Linked DNA regions of Homo sapiens: region 1 is linked to region 2. Evidence: promoter capture Hi-C in human tissues and cell types (Jung and others, 2019). All regions are on one chromosome and are shown on one strand. The core of a region is centred on a gene start or on the middle of the fragment in contact, and the rest is flanking DNA. Distances in the headings are between cores, read along the strand shown.

The links. The method cuts DNA at HindIII sites, captures the fragments that hold promoters and counts their contacts. A contact is called where the count stands out against the background at its distance.
Region 1: a contact is called between a fragment that was not itself captured here and the fragment with the promoter of PKIA in region 2, in 1 of the 25 tissues and cell types used here (lymphoblastoid cells).

The regions. Positions count from the first base shown.
Region 1 is chr8:79,084,389-79,091,430 of GRCh38, reverse strand. No RefSeq gene overlaps it. Among named protein-coding and RNA genes, the nearest start is that of MIR12123, 240 kb to the left of the region's middle. The HindIII fragment of the contact is 3,456 bases long and covers 3,779-7,042 here.
Region 2 is chr8:78,514,041-78,520,989 of GRCh38, reverse strand. It overlaps PKIA (cAMP-dependent protein kinase inhibitor alpha), which reads right to left and starts at 4,650. Exons shown (of 4, transcript NM_006823.4): 1 at 4,522-4,650. All of the region lies in intron 2 of LOC105375911 (a long non-coding RNA gene), which reads left to right. RefSeq lists an enhancer at 3,976-4,085 and a silencer at 4,406-4,705. The HindIII fragment of the contact is 16,159 bases long and covers 1-6,949 here.

The sequences.
Region 1 (7,042 bases), core at 4,257-6,756, 570 kb before region 2:
AACTTTTGATTCCCTTTGAAGTAGAATTTTTGGTTTGGTATGGTTTAGAGTTCCAACATTATTTATTCTTCATATGGTACTCAATTCCTTATGTGTAGTTTATTAGCAACACTATTCATTTCTTACCCCAGTTTCATCTTTTTAGTGGTCTTAAATAGAAAGGTTTTTTTTGCACTAGAGTTGAAAATTATGGCTGTGGCTAGAGGAATTCTTTCCTGTTACTAATATTCCTCCTTTGTGATAAGAACTTTACGAGCACATTGTTCCTTGCCTCTTTTTTGCAACCTCAGTTTTTACTTTAGGAAGAGCTATGATTTAAAATAATTGTTGAGTTTGCAATGAAAAATTGAGTAGGCTTAAAAAATCTTATTTTACTACTCTGTCTTGGAAATCAGAATTTTACAGGAAGCAGCTGGCTGACAGTTAGTTTATTCTATTTAGAAGCCAAGAATTGGGAAACCCACATTTTTGCAGACTATAAGCAGTGTGCTGCAATATCAACATCCACTAATGTCTAATTTTGATATTTCATTTTTTTACTTTGTGTTTTAAAATAATTTTTGACTTACAGAAGAGTTGCACATATAGCACAGACAGCCTTTGCCTACCATTCATCCAGCTTCCCCTAATGTTAACATAACATAACATAACATAACATAACATAACATAGCATAATGATAACATAAGCATGGTATGATGATCAAAACTAATAATTAACACTGATATAATACTGTTAACTAAACTACAAACTTCATTCAGAATTCTTCAGCTTTTCCATTATTATTTTTTCTTTTCTAATCTAGGATTTCACAATGTTATATGCCCTTATTTCTACCACTCTGTGACAGTTCTTCAATCTTTCATTCTAATTTATGTATTGATACTTTTAAAGATTATTGGTCAGGTATTTTAAAAAATGCCCATTAACTTGGGTTTGTGTGATGCTTTTTCATGATTAAACTGAGACTCTGAACTTGGGGAAAGAATTCCACATAACCAATATGCCCTTCTCATTCCATCATATCAAGGGCTAGAGGATATCAATACATATGACCAATCCTGATCATTTGGCTAAGGTGGTTTTTGTCAGGCTTCTCTGCTATAAAGTTTTTATCTTTCTCTCCCCAAGTTTGGTTCATCAGAAGTGAGTCACAAAGTCCAGTTCCTACTCAAGAATAGGGAAGTTAAGCTTTACCTACTGGAGGGAGAAGCATCAAGAGATTTGTGGATATATGTTAAATCACTACAGTAACAGTAAATATTTTCAGGGTTTACTTTGGGGTTATACATGTTTCATGTTGCTTCTTAAGCATTTGACCACTAATTATAGAGAAGAGTCACATTTTTTTGCCTTCTTTAGTGGAGGGAGGTGATTAAAATTGTCTAGTGAGTATCAGAGGGTTTTACCTCTATAACTGGGAATTTTTATAAAGGTCTTCTAGGGTACTTGGGTTTGGGTTATTGATAGTTAAATACTCTTTCACAAGTTTTAGTTTCTACAACTTTAGACAACTATTTGCTTGGGCCAAAGAATCTTATTGCTGTAGTGGGTCTCAGAGATATGAAGGAGACTATTTCTTGGGGTCATACACATATTTATTTCCCATAGATAAACAGAGCTTCAAGTTAAGTCTAAACCTATTTTTTTTCCAATTTTCCATGTCTTGCTTCATCTACTCTGAACTTTATTCTTTTCCTCTGGTTCTGAAAATAATTCCTTATATCCCTATACTTTAACATACTTGATCCAATTGATTTTCAAACTAAACCTGTGAGAATGACAGATATCATGGCCTCTAATTTTCAAATGAAAAATATTCCAAGAGGTGAAGATCACACAGCTTCATCTATAAGAACAAAAGCCAGGACTAAACCCAAACTTTGTACTTGTTAATACAGTACTTACTGTATAACACCATACTAGCTTCTATATTCATTAAAAACCACAGAAGCTACTGAATATTCATGTTCCACAAGGTTACATGAGCCAATGTGTAGGAGATATGGAGTCAGGCCCTCTATTGTGTTCTCTCTGTTTATCTGTAGCTTAATGATGGCACTTTCCTTCTGTTTTTATCTTTACAATTATGTAAAATGCTCTCCTGAAGTAGATACCACAAGGTCTATGCTCATTTTAGGTCTTTGTGAAGTGGATCATAAATAAAAATGGTAAAGGACTATGTAGCCATGTCATTCTGGACAGCATGATACTGACTAAAATAATCAAATTAAAGGGATCATGTTTTAACTGATAAGGTGTTCTTCAATGTTATAAGTGAATGATAATGAATTATTACTGGGTTTATGACTAAGGTATCCAAAACATCTCTTCGTTGTCTGATTATTTTAGTCAGATGAGCCATATATTAAGCTCATATTTTATTTTATGGACCACTAAATGTTGAGGCATAGTGGAAAGTGTAAAGATAAGAGTCTATTACACTTTAAACATAAATCCTGAGCTGGAGGATGATGCTTTTAGCACAATGTAGTACAGGATTAAAGGTATGGCCTGCATAATGAAATAGTCTTCCCAATCATACCTCCTTCTCCTTATTTTGTGACCTTGGACAAGTCCCTCCCCTTTTCTCTGCCTTGCTTTCTTCATTTGCAAACTTAATATTAGTGAGGCTTAAATATGACAGTGTTTGTGAAGTACATGGTAGTTCCTGGCATAAAGTAAATTTTCAATATATCCTAGCTATAAGCACATGCTAGAATAGTAGCCATTTTTGAGTCTACTGTGCCAAATGTTTTATATTTAAAATTTCTGTATCAGTCAGTGCAGTTGAAATAATGTGGTCTGGAGTCATATACACAAATTCTTCCACTTAATGGCTTTCTGTAACCCCAGACAATTTATGAAACTTGTGTAAACCTGTTTCCCCACCTGGAAGATGTAAATAAAATAATAAACACATATTGAAAGCTTCTTATATGCCAGTTATTTTGCTGATATATTACCTCCATTATCTTATTTAAAACCTACCCTGCACAATTCGGTATTTAAAGAGGTCTTTTATTTAAATCATCTTGTATCATGTCTGACACATTATTATGTGCTAAATGCAATTTAATTTTCTGCCTCTTTCCCCTATCACCTACCACAGAGTGACATTGACTGATTAATCCACATATTTAATCAATGTATGCACAATGAAATGAGTTCACTCTGCTTTGGTGTTACTGTCTAAAGTTTAGTTTCCTCACTTGCAAAACAGGGATTCATTATACCTACTGTGATTCACTACCTGCAACGTCCCTAACAGCATGCCGGACACCTAATAAGGATTCAATCAGTGATTCATTTTATTTTTTTCCTTAAAACCTTGCTCCCAGACTCAACATCAAGAATGAACTTATATGCTAACTCTTTTGTGTAGTAAGGAACCATGTTATGCAGAGACATTTATGAATAGAGATTAATTATATCAGTCTTCAAGAAGACGCAGTACAGAGTTTGCTATCTACTATTCTGTAGCAGTAAGACTTTTTTCAAAAAGCATTGCGCAAACTCTGATTTTATTTAGATGATCCCCTAAGAAACTTATTAGAAAAACAGTCACCCAAACAACTGCTTGTTAACCAGAGTCCTTAATTTATATGTTCTGGGCTATATTGTCTAAAAATGCTTCCTACTTGGAATGAAAAATATATCACATTTGATTTCCTTCCCAGTTCAGATTATAATAGTACCAAATAAGCAATATATTTTTATGTGCAAACTGTTTGGAGGAACAGAAGGAGACTGTGTGTTTCTCTTTTGGCCTTAGGCAAATCTTTCCATTACTCTAAGCAGAAAGTATAATTTTATCATACACGTGAGATGCTTCTAATGACTAGCTATTACTTTCTACCTACAGATTTGTGTGACGAATGAGTGGTATTTCCTTTCAGTTATTTCTATTTTACACGGGAAATATTAGGATAATTTGGACATTTATTATCCTTTTCATGACCTAGATATGCAATATGGTACTTTCATTAGGAAAACATACGGAAAAGAATCGTAATTTTATTTAGTAATTCAGTTAGTTAATTTTTGTGTATGGAGGATCCTCTAGTTGTAAAATAATGTTGAAGATGAAAAGGAAGAAAGGCCAGAGTATTAAGGCATGAACATTCTTAGGCAGAAAAATCTTTCATGGACACACAGTCTGAAAATAATATTTCTAAATATGTGTCCAGGTTATAAGATAAATACCTTTGTCTTTAAGTACCTGTATGGTACTCCCTGGAATATCTGTTTTGTTTCTTCAAATATGATGAAGGAGCATGAGAACTGGCAAGGTTTTGTTTTGTTTTGTTTTGTTTTGTTTTGAGACGGAGTCTCGCTCTATCCCCCAGGCTGGAGTGCAGTGGCGTGATTTCAGCTCACTGCAACTTCCGCCTCCTGGGTTCAAGTGATTCTCCAGCCTCAGCCTCCGGAGTAGCTGGGATTACCAGCGCCCCTCCACACTTCCGGCCACGATCGGCTAATTTTTGCATTTTTAGTAGAGATGGGGTTTCTCCATGTTGGCCAGTATGGTCTCAAACTCCTGACCTCAGGTGATCCATCCGCCTCGGCCTTCCAAAGTGCTGGGAATACAGGCATCAGCCACTGCGCCCAGCCAGAGAACTGGTAAGCTTTTACTGAGAGAATAAAGTTGTGTTAAGCCCTTACTGTGTTTCTTCCTTGGCATTTGTGCACAGAACACTCAGATTGGATTTTGATTTCAGATTATTACCCCTTCTCTATTCTCAGCCCAGGTATTACTGACGAATTTGACTCTTTCCTTCAGAAACTGGCAGAGACTCTGACTGGCTCCTAGTTACATCGTTGGTTCAAGAATGAACATGTGGCTGAACTAGATCCAATTAGATGAAATGAGGACTCTTGCTGAAATTTTTCAAAGAGAAAATCTCATTCTTTCCTATTGGACGTGGAATGTAAGATAATGTAAAAACTAAAGCTGTCACTGCTGTTTGCTACATTTCTCACAGGTAGCCCAATATTGAGATGGGACAATATGGATAAATAGAAACAGTGTCCGAGTTCTTAATTCAGCTGTGCATAGCCCATCCCTTGACTTTTCTGATACATGTGCTAATATACACTTGTGATTTAAGCTCACTTGAATTTCTGTTACCTGCAACCTTGTTGTTTCAAATTGGTCCCTACAAAAAGGCCACACCTCCCTGTTGTGTTCAAAACAGAAGCTTCCAGTGATCTGCTTCTGCCATCCACAGAACAACAACACTTGGGCACAATAGTTATACAAGAATTATAGAGGCTTATTTCCATATTCAATGCAATTCGGTGTGGAATCACACTAATCAAGTTAGAGGTTCAGCAGAATTTCTCTAGTGAGCTTTAGCATTTCAAGTCTAGCCAGCTTTAGATTTGTGATAAAAGAAGAAAAACATAGGCTTCCTCATTCTGCCTCTAGTTCTCTTGCCTCTATTTCTTTTCTCCAAGGTTAGTAATTCACACACATTCCAAGAGCAAATAATAGTTCTCTGAAATAGCATAGTCTTTGTCCATATTAAAAATATATATTTTTTTTTTCTAAAAACATCAACATCCACAAAGGTTTTCCATGCTAAACAGAAAGGCCTTTACCATTAGCAGGCTGACCAACTTAACTCTTCTCTGTCTCCAGCTTTCCTTTACAGACTAGTTATGTGTGTCCATTAGATAAGCCCAAAAGACACATTAAAGAGGTTTTCAAACAAATTTGTTTTGAAAAAATAAATTCTTCTGCCTCACATAAATGAGAAAATAGTTGCAACTTTAAAAATTAAATTAGTAACTCTTGTTTACAATGTAAACTGGCACAGTCATTCTAGAATGAAGTTTGGCAGTATTTGGTGATATAACCGGGTGTGTATGACACTGCAATCCCACTCCTGAGTTAACATCCCAGAGAAACTCTGGCTCAGGACTTTAACTAGGTTCTGCTCTTCCAGGTGTTTCCCCAGGGGATAGAAAGTAGAAGGCAACCTAGGAATCCATCAATAAGGGAGTAAGTAAAATATGGCAGAGTCAGGCACAATGGGATACGATGCGTCAATCACAAAATATGGATATGTCTCAGAAATATTAACGAAAAGAAACAAAACATGATATACCTTTCTATAAATTAAAAAAAAACACAACCATGGAAAATATAGCACATATTTTGAAAAGGTAAATATATTTAGGGATACAGTTGAAACATTTGAAGTGGGTGACTAATAGAATGGGAGAGAAATAATAGTTGGGTTTGGAAAAAAATTAAAAACAGATTATCATCCACTATTAGGTGAAGAGTACAAGTAAATCAACTTTCTGTCACAGAAATGACAGTAATAGCATAAAAATGAGCTCCTTTTGACATTTTGTATTATTTTTTGTCAGATATAGTTTTGTGAGAATTTATTATACCACAGGTAAAACACTCCTATGTAATAGGAATATGAGCTGGCTATGTTTGAGAATTCCCTTAGTTATCATTAAATGAGGAGACATGAACAAATAGCAGAGCAGGAAATACTAATAGGTTTTCTGACATGTACTTTCAGAATCATTTACTGTGATGAATTACTTTGGGGACATAAAGACTTGCTTATACTATTGCCAAGTTAATATTTCGTTAGAAACTGCATATATATGTGTATATAAGTATGAATATAAATAGTTTCACTTTTTAGTCCCTGTTTTTCTGATTTCAAAGATAATATATTTACCTTATGAAAAGTTTAGGAAATGTTGAATAATTCTGAGAAGAAAATTAAAATAACCTATAGGCATCCATCAGAGGATAAACAATTTGAAACATTTTAGTGGATTTACTTTTAGGATTTTCTGTTCTGTATTTGTGTGTGTTGTACATGCACACACATCATGACACTTTCATATACAGTGAAAGAGAAAAAATGCTATAGTTTTATTGTCTTAGTTCAGGCTGCCATTACAAAGTACCATAGAATGATTTATATTCCTTTGGGTATATACCCAGTAATGGGATTGCTGGGAGGAATGGTTATTCTATTATAAACAATGCTTTGACTAACATCATGG
Region 2 (6,949 bases), core at 3,401-5,900:
AGTCATCAGCTGTCTTCATGTCAGTGTTGGTGAAGGGCTCTCATTTCAGGTCTTAAAGTAAGGAGAAAAACAGAAGGAAAACCTCATCTCAAGTACTGGAAATGTAAGGGCTAATAAAGGACACACATATTGTCCAAGGGAGCACAAATAGATGTTCTTTAACTATTCTGTAAAGAGAGCTTTAGTGAATCCACAAACACCTGCATTTGTATGCAAAATTAATATGTGTATGCTTCTGTATGTACTTGGGGAGAAGATGTACAGACTTTACTGAGTTATCAAAAGTTTGAGATGTTAACCTAAAAGTTTAAAAAGCACTGGAAAGATTAATCACAAAACAACTTGAAACTATTCTGATGGCTCTGACTTTATGTTTTTACAATGTTTTCCCTCACTCTGTTACACTTCAAAGAGCGGGTGGTAATATGGAAAAAATCTCTGCCATTCAGGTGACATCTCTGAGCCTCAGTTTTCTTAGTGTAAAATTCACATATAGTATAAACATCAAATGAGATACCAAAGATGAAAGTCCCTAGATGAGTGGCTTGAAACAAGATAAATGCTCATATGCATAAGGTGCCTTCAATGCAATAATACTGAAAGCAGGTACAATGTCTTCATTAAAGATTGGTTTTGCTATGCTCACCATGCTTTTAGTATCCATTTAAGGACATTTAAGCTCATAATACCTTTTGTAGATTATAATGATTTGAATGTACTCTCAGTATATTTATTATTACTATAATGATTTTTAAAAAACCAAATTAGCATTTGCACATATATTGAGAACTTAACTTGGCTGGTAGAGGAGTGTAGGTAGATAGATTTATAACTCTGGAAAATAACTTATTTCTTCACTAAAATCAAATTGCTGAACACCTATAATACATATATGTAGCTAGACACCATAGAGTTGCAGGTAATAAAAACTTATTCCCAGACCCTGCTTTCAAGAGTTTTTTTTAGAAGAGCAGACAAAGCATGTTCACATGAAAGGATAACCCAAAATAGAATGTGCTATGGGAATTTAAACAAGAGAGGGGCACATCTGGTTGGGGAAGGAAGATGGGTATGGGGAAGGCTTCATAAGTGAGTCAGTATCTGAGGTGAACAAGGTTTCGACATGTAAGAGGATGGGCTAACAGAATAAATGAAAACACATAGGCATGCCACCATGGGGTACAAATTGGAAAGAAGATCCACTTGGTTTAGGTTGGGCATGGGGTACTTTAAGGGAATTAGTGACAAATTAGATTAAGAGATATCACAGTGCCTGATACATAGTACTTAATATTACCTTTTAAACACAAATATTGAATCCAAGAATAACATAGAAGAGGACTTATAAAATGAACAGGGTGAAATATTATAGAAATCTGGCAATTAAGAGGTCATTGGCAACTTTCAAAATAGCACTTTTTTCTACCCATTCTCAGTGGAGTCACTGGTTGAATAGAAATGACATTTCTATTTGAGCCTTATTATTGCTATTCTTTTTCCTTTTCCATTTCAACATTTCTGAACTTTTAAAAAAGTTTTTATTTTTTAATTTGAGACAGGGTTTCATTCTGTTGCCCTGGTTGAAGTACAGTGGTGCCATCATGGCTCACTGCAGCCTCAGACTCCTGGGCTCAAGCAATCCTCCTGCCTCAGCCTCAAATCTTAAGGCTATTTCAATTGTAGTTAATGGCAGTAATGCAGCACCAGAAAAAGATATTTTGTTAGAAGAGGGCAACTTTAACTCCTAAATTTTTACTCTCTAAATATCTGGTAACACTGTCTAGCAGACAAAACTTTTTTTTTTTTTTTTACACAATTGGAGAGCAGTAGACTGACTTCAGTTCTATCTTGTCAAACACAAAAGTGCCTGCAGTTCATTTAGTATCTAATCATTTAGCATCTAATCATGCACGTCCTTCCATTTTTCATTCCTCTTTCAATTCTGAACACCAGCCAATTAGTTTTTCCTCTCCCTAGGAAACATTTTAAGGAAAGGATATAAAGTCATAAATCAGTTTCAGACATAAAATCATACATATATTTCTGCTTAGCCTTCTAAATTTAGAAACTTTCCTCAAACTTGTTTAAACACAACAAAGTCCAAATTCAGGAATCCCTTCAGTTTGATTATCTTCCTCAGTTGTACTAAAATGAAAATTAAATTTTCTAACTTGTTTTCTTTCTTCTCAACAAGATTTCTCCAACTCCAGTCCATAACTTAGTGGGTTCAACTCACCTGCAAAATCACTAGCAAGTATTATTCCACCTTAGGCAGCACCAGTCTCCTAATCCTGAACCTATTTCTTGCCAAAGAGTTTAGTTTCTTCAGAAACTAAATGATAGACACTTCGAATTTCTAACCATCATTAGGATATTCTCACGCACTTGCTCTTCAACAGAAAGGTGACTGTCAACATTACAGAAACTGCATTGTATTTCTAAGATCAATTGTACTAATCTGTATTTCATATACCTTAGGTTATTTAGAATAACTATATTAAAATTCATTATTATTCTATATTAGTATTATTCAGAATAATGATGTATATGGTTAAGTATTTTAATAGTAGAAAAAAGGTGGTAGAATACAGGGTTTGTTGTTGATCTTGTTCTTTGTTACCTCATAGTTAATGTGACTGAGTAAAAATTCTAGAATCTCAAGAAGTTAATATTTCAAACCAAAACCCTGTTTAACACATAATAACAACAACAAAAAAGGAACATAAGGTTATTAAGACCCCAAGGGGCAGTTCCTGGAGTGGATCACTCAGTAGTGGGCTTTGCCCACCCCCTACACCCTCACCCTATGCCTCATATACTGAAGATGGAGACAAAGAAACAAATTCAAATCTTTCTAAAGTGCATTTTGTAAAAACGAAATTTGTAATAGAAAGGCAATAATGATATATAATATGATTAACACGATTTTCCATACTAGTGTCTTTGCTTAAAAATAATATTTGAAGAGGAAAGAAAGAGGTAAAATTTTAAGCTACCAACTCTGCCCCTCTTTTTCATTGATCTTCTAATTTAATTTACTAAAATAAAATTGCATGGCTGTTGAGTCAGACAGTCTCTGTAATTTTAAGTTTAAAGATAACAGATCTTCCTTTAAATAGAACATTGGCACACAGATACCCCACAATCTGGCTTATTGCAACTGTTCTCTGTTGGTGAAGTGGCACGTTTGCAATCCCCATAACAGCCATCTTAACCATTTCACAGCATATTATTCAAATGTACATCTCTAGGTGGCAACAAGGATAGGCACTTGGGCTCAGTAGCAAGGGGTCTGTGGGGAAAATCCTAGGACGAGGGATAGGAACCTGCAAATGGCAAGACAAACTAGAGGATACTCAACCAGAGGCTTAGATTGGGCAGCTCCATTGGCTTTCTGACTGCCTACGAGGAAAACCTCACTGGAAACTCTTTTGAGGTTCTTGAGGAATCCTAGAGGCAAACGGACTCCTCTGCCTTTTGGAAAGGATTTGTCCCAAATCTTAACAGCTAGCTGTCTCAAAATCCAACTGGACTAAAATTGCTTCAAGAAAAACTGGATGGACTGGCATTCACATTTTTACTTCTACCTATGCCTATGCATAGGGAACATCCCTCACACTCCAGTAGATTCTATCTGTCCTCTCTAGCTTTCAAGTAGCCACAGTGACTACAGCGAAGGGAGTTAATGGGATAACATGTTGGTACAGGGCCACAAGCAGGATATTTCATTCCATGCATTTGGGGGAAGGACACAGGTAACAGTATACAGGGAGAATACCGAATAAGAAATCTGTGTGAGGCAATGCCCTTTTTGGGACCTTGACAAAATCAGTCATGGAACCCAGGTGGTGGATAAGAGCTGACGAGAGTTGGTCTGTGAATGGGCACAGCATCTCCGAAAAAGATCAATGAAATGATTGACAGAGAAAATGGCAATTGAAGGAAGAAGCGATGTCAAGTGCTGCTCAACCCAAGCTGAACTCCAGGAGATAAGAGAAGTTTCCCCTCCAGATAGAGGCTCTTTCTAAAGGTTCAGTCTTGAAGCAGGTGTTTTGCCATTGAGAGGGGCACAGACCCATTCTGATAACTGGAAAGGGAGAGGACCAAGGACTACAGGAAGAGGGACGATTTCTGATTACCTCAGGCTGCTGCCAGGGACCTACTGCTCCAAATCCTCAAAATACTCAAGCGAAGGTAAAAGGCACAGAAAGCAAAAGAGTAACTCAAATTATTTTAAATTTTGAGTCCTCTTCACTGTCTACGCGAATCTGGCACTGAAATGGTAGATCACGTTCAAAAGAGTATAGAGGCAAGAACGCCTTCTTTGTTTGCCCAGTAACACTGCTCCTCCAACCTCTGCACTTGGCCGCCCAACATTTCCATCCTAGTTGTTGCTCCTTTTCTCATTGCAGAATGCAGCGGGGTTCTCCCCTTCTTCCCTCCGTGCTGCAAACCCCATTATTAACCAAGCGGAAAGCTCCACGCAGTGCGGCCAGGGCGCACCGGTGCCGGGCTGCTTACCTTCCCCGGACCTAGTCAGCGCAGGTCCCCGCGCACGCCGCCACGGGCCGCAGTCCCGCCGCGCCCGCCGAGTGCTCGGTCAGCTCGCGCCGGCCCGCGCCCCACCTGCCAGCAGCAGCCTCCGCTCCCGCCGCGGAGCTCCGGCTGCATGAAGTCATCCCCGCCCCGGGACGGATCACCACATTCCGCGCCAGCCACGGGGGGAGCGGGGCCGCTCCCGACCCCAGGGAAGGCAGCCTGGAAACGGCGCTCGACGATCGCTGCCCCGCGAGGTTGTGGATTGATTTTCTATTAATGCTTTTACAGCTGCAGCATCGCTGGATTATGGATTGAGAGAGAAGAGCCAGGGGGGCTTTCTCTGCATAGCGTCCTTCCTCCGAGCGCTCCCCCGTCACCCCGGCTGCATGGACTGTTCCATTTGCCCCTGTGGGTTTCCCACCCTCTTCATCTTCCTTATCAGCATTGTTCATTTGGCTGAATTTGAGAGCAGGAATTGTCTTTTAAGATAAACATTCAAGCACTACAAAAACATTTTAAATTGGTAATGAAGCTTTCTAAGCCCTTCATAGCTCTCTCCATCACCCCCGCCCCCGCCAACAGACACACACGCAAACACACACACACACGCACACACGCGCGCACACACACGTATGCACACAGCCAAACCACTCACAATTTTGAAAGCTAGAACCTTTCGCCCTCTCACCTACGTAATAGAACGGGAATCTCCTAAAAGACTGGAGAAGTGGGGCCAACCAGAGAAAGCGCTCAAAGAAACAGTGGGGTGGCCCCATGATTTTGTTGTGTTTATGGTGCACTTGTGCACAGATGTTCCCTCTAACATCTCTTCCTCCTACTTCCTTTGCTCTGGACCCCCTCCCCTCCCTGCCACATAATTGGGCAAACTGTTGTGGTGACAGCTGTAACATTTGGGAATCAAAAAGCAGAGTCTACATTAGCAAATGACTATCTCTCTTTCCCTAAGGATTTATGAAAATTTGCTTTGGGAATGAAATAAGCATGTATTCATATAAGCCCTTTCCTTCTCTTTTTAAATTAACACTAGCTGTTAACAAGACTGTTCTCTCTCCCCCACCCTCCCGTTTTGCTTCTTTCCCAAATCTCTTCAGGTTTGAGGGTTGAATGTTTAAGGAAAAATGGGACTAAATTTGCTCTCTTTGTAGCTGAGCCAGGGTTTCCGCCTAGCTGTTGAGTCATTTTCCAGTCGGGAGGTTCCTTGACACTAGGGTTCTGTGGAATGGAGTTCCCTCTTTTAACTTGCCTTGCTGTTTGAATTGACCGTCACTTGATACAGGCCAGCTTTACACTATGGATTTGTCCAGCAACCTAAACAGTGCAATTGCACAAGGCCAGGGAAGCACCTTTGCTAAATGAGATGTTTCCATCCATCTATCAGTCCCAAAGTTAGGTGATAATGTAGCCAACAGCTTTCCAACAAAACTTAGTTAGAATTCTTGGTCATAGAATATATGCTCTTTGAAAGCTAGAACAGCTTAATTCATCGCTCTGAGACTCACTTTCATAACATTAGCCCGTTAATATTACCATAGAGCAGGAGATTCTTAATCTGTATAAATGGAATTCTATTCATATACTCCTTTTATACAGATTAAGTATAATGGGAAAAATCTCATTTTTAGTTTCACTAACTTCTAACTGAAATTTAGCATTTAGCATGTCCTTTAAACATAATGTAGGCAACAAACCACAAGAATGTTAGGAGTACCTGGGACTTTGTTTCCAATAGAAACAACAGCTAATTCCTTATTGCTGTTTTTATAGATATCTCTATCACTACACTGATGTTATAATCAAATCATCACTACTTTTTTTATTTAATAGACTATATTTTTCAGCTTTGGTGTCCAGAAAAATTGAAGAAATAATACAGGGTGTTCCCATATATCCCATTCCCAGTGTCTCCTATTGACATCATACAATAGTAAGGTACCTTGGTGTAATTCTGGCATTGCTATAAAGAACTACCTGAGATTGGGTAATTTATAAAGAAGGGCTGGTGGTTCTGTAGGCTGTACAGGAAGCATGATTGGGGAGGTCTCAGGAAACCTATAATCATGGTGGAAGGCAAAGGGGAAGCAGGCAGGGCCTACATGGCTGGAGCAGGAGAAAGAGAAGGGGGAGGTGCTACACACTTTTAAACAACCAGATGTCATGAGAACTCACTACCACCAGAAAGCCAAGGGGGAAGTCCTCCCCCATGATCAAGTCACCTCCCACTAGGCCCCTCCTCCAAAATTGGGGATTACAATTTGACATGAGATTTGGGTAGGGACACAAATCTGAACCATATCATTGGGTTACAATCAATGAATGTATACTGATACATTATTACTAACTATAAATAAAGTCTAACTACATTTAAGTTTCCCTGGTTTTTACCTAATAT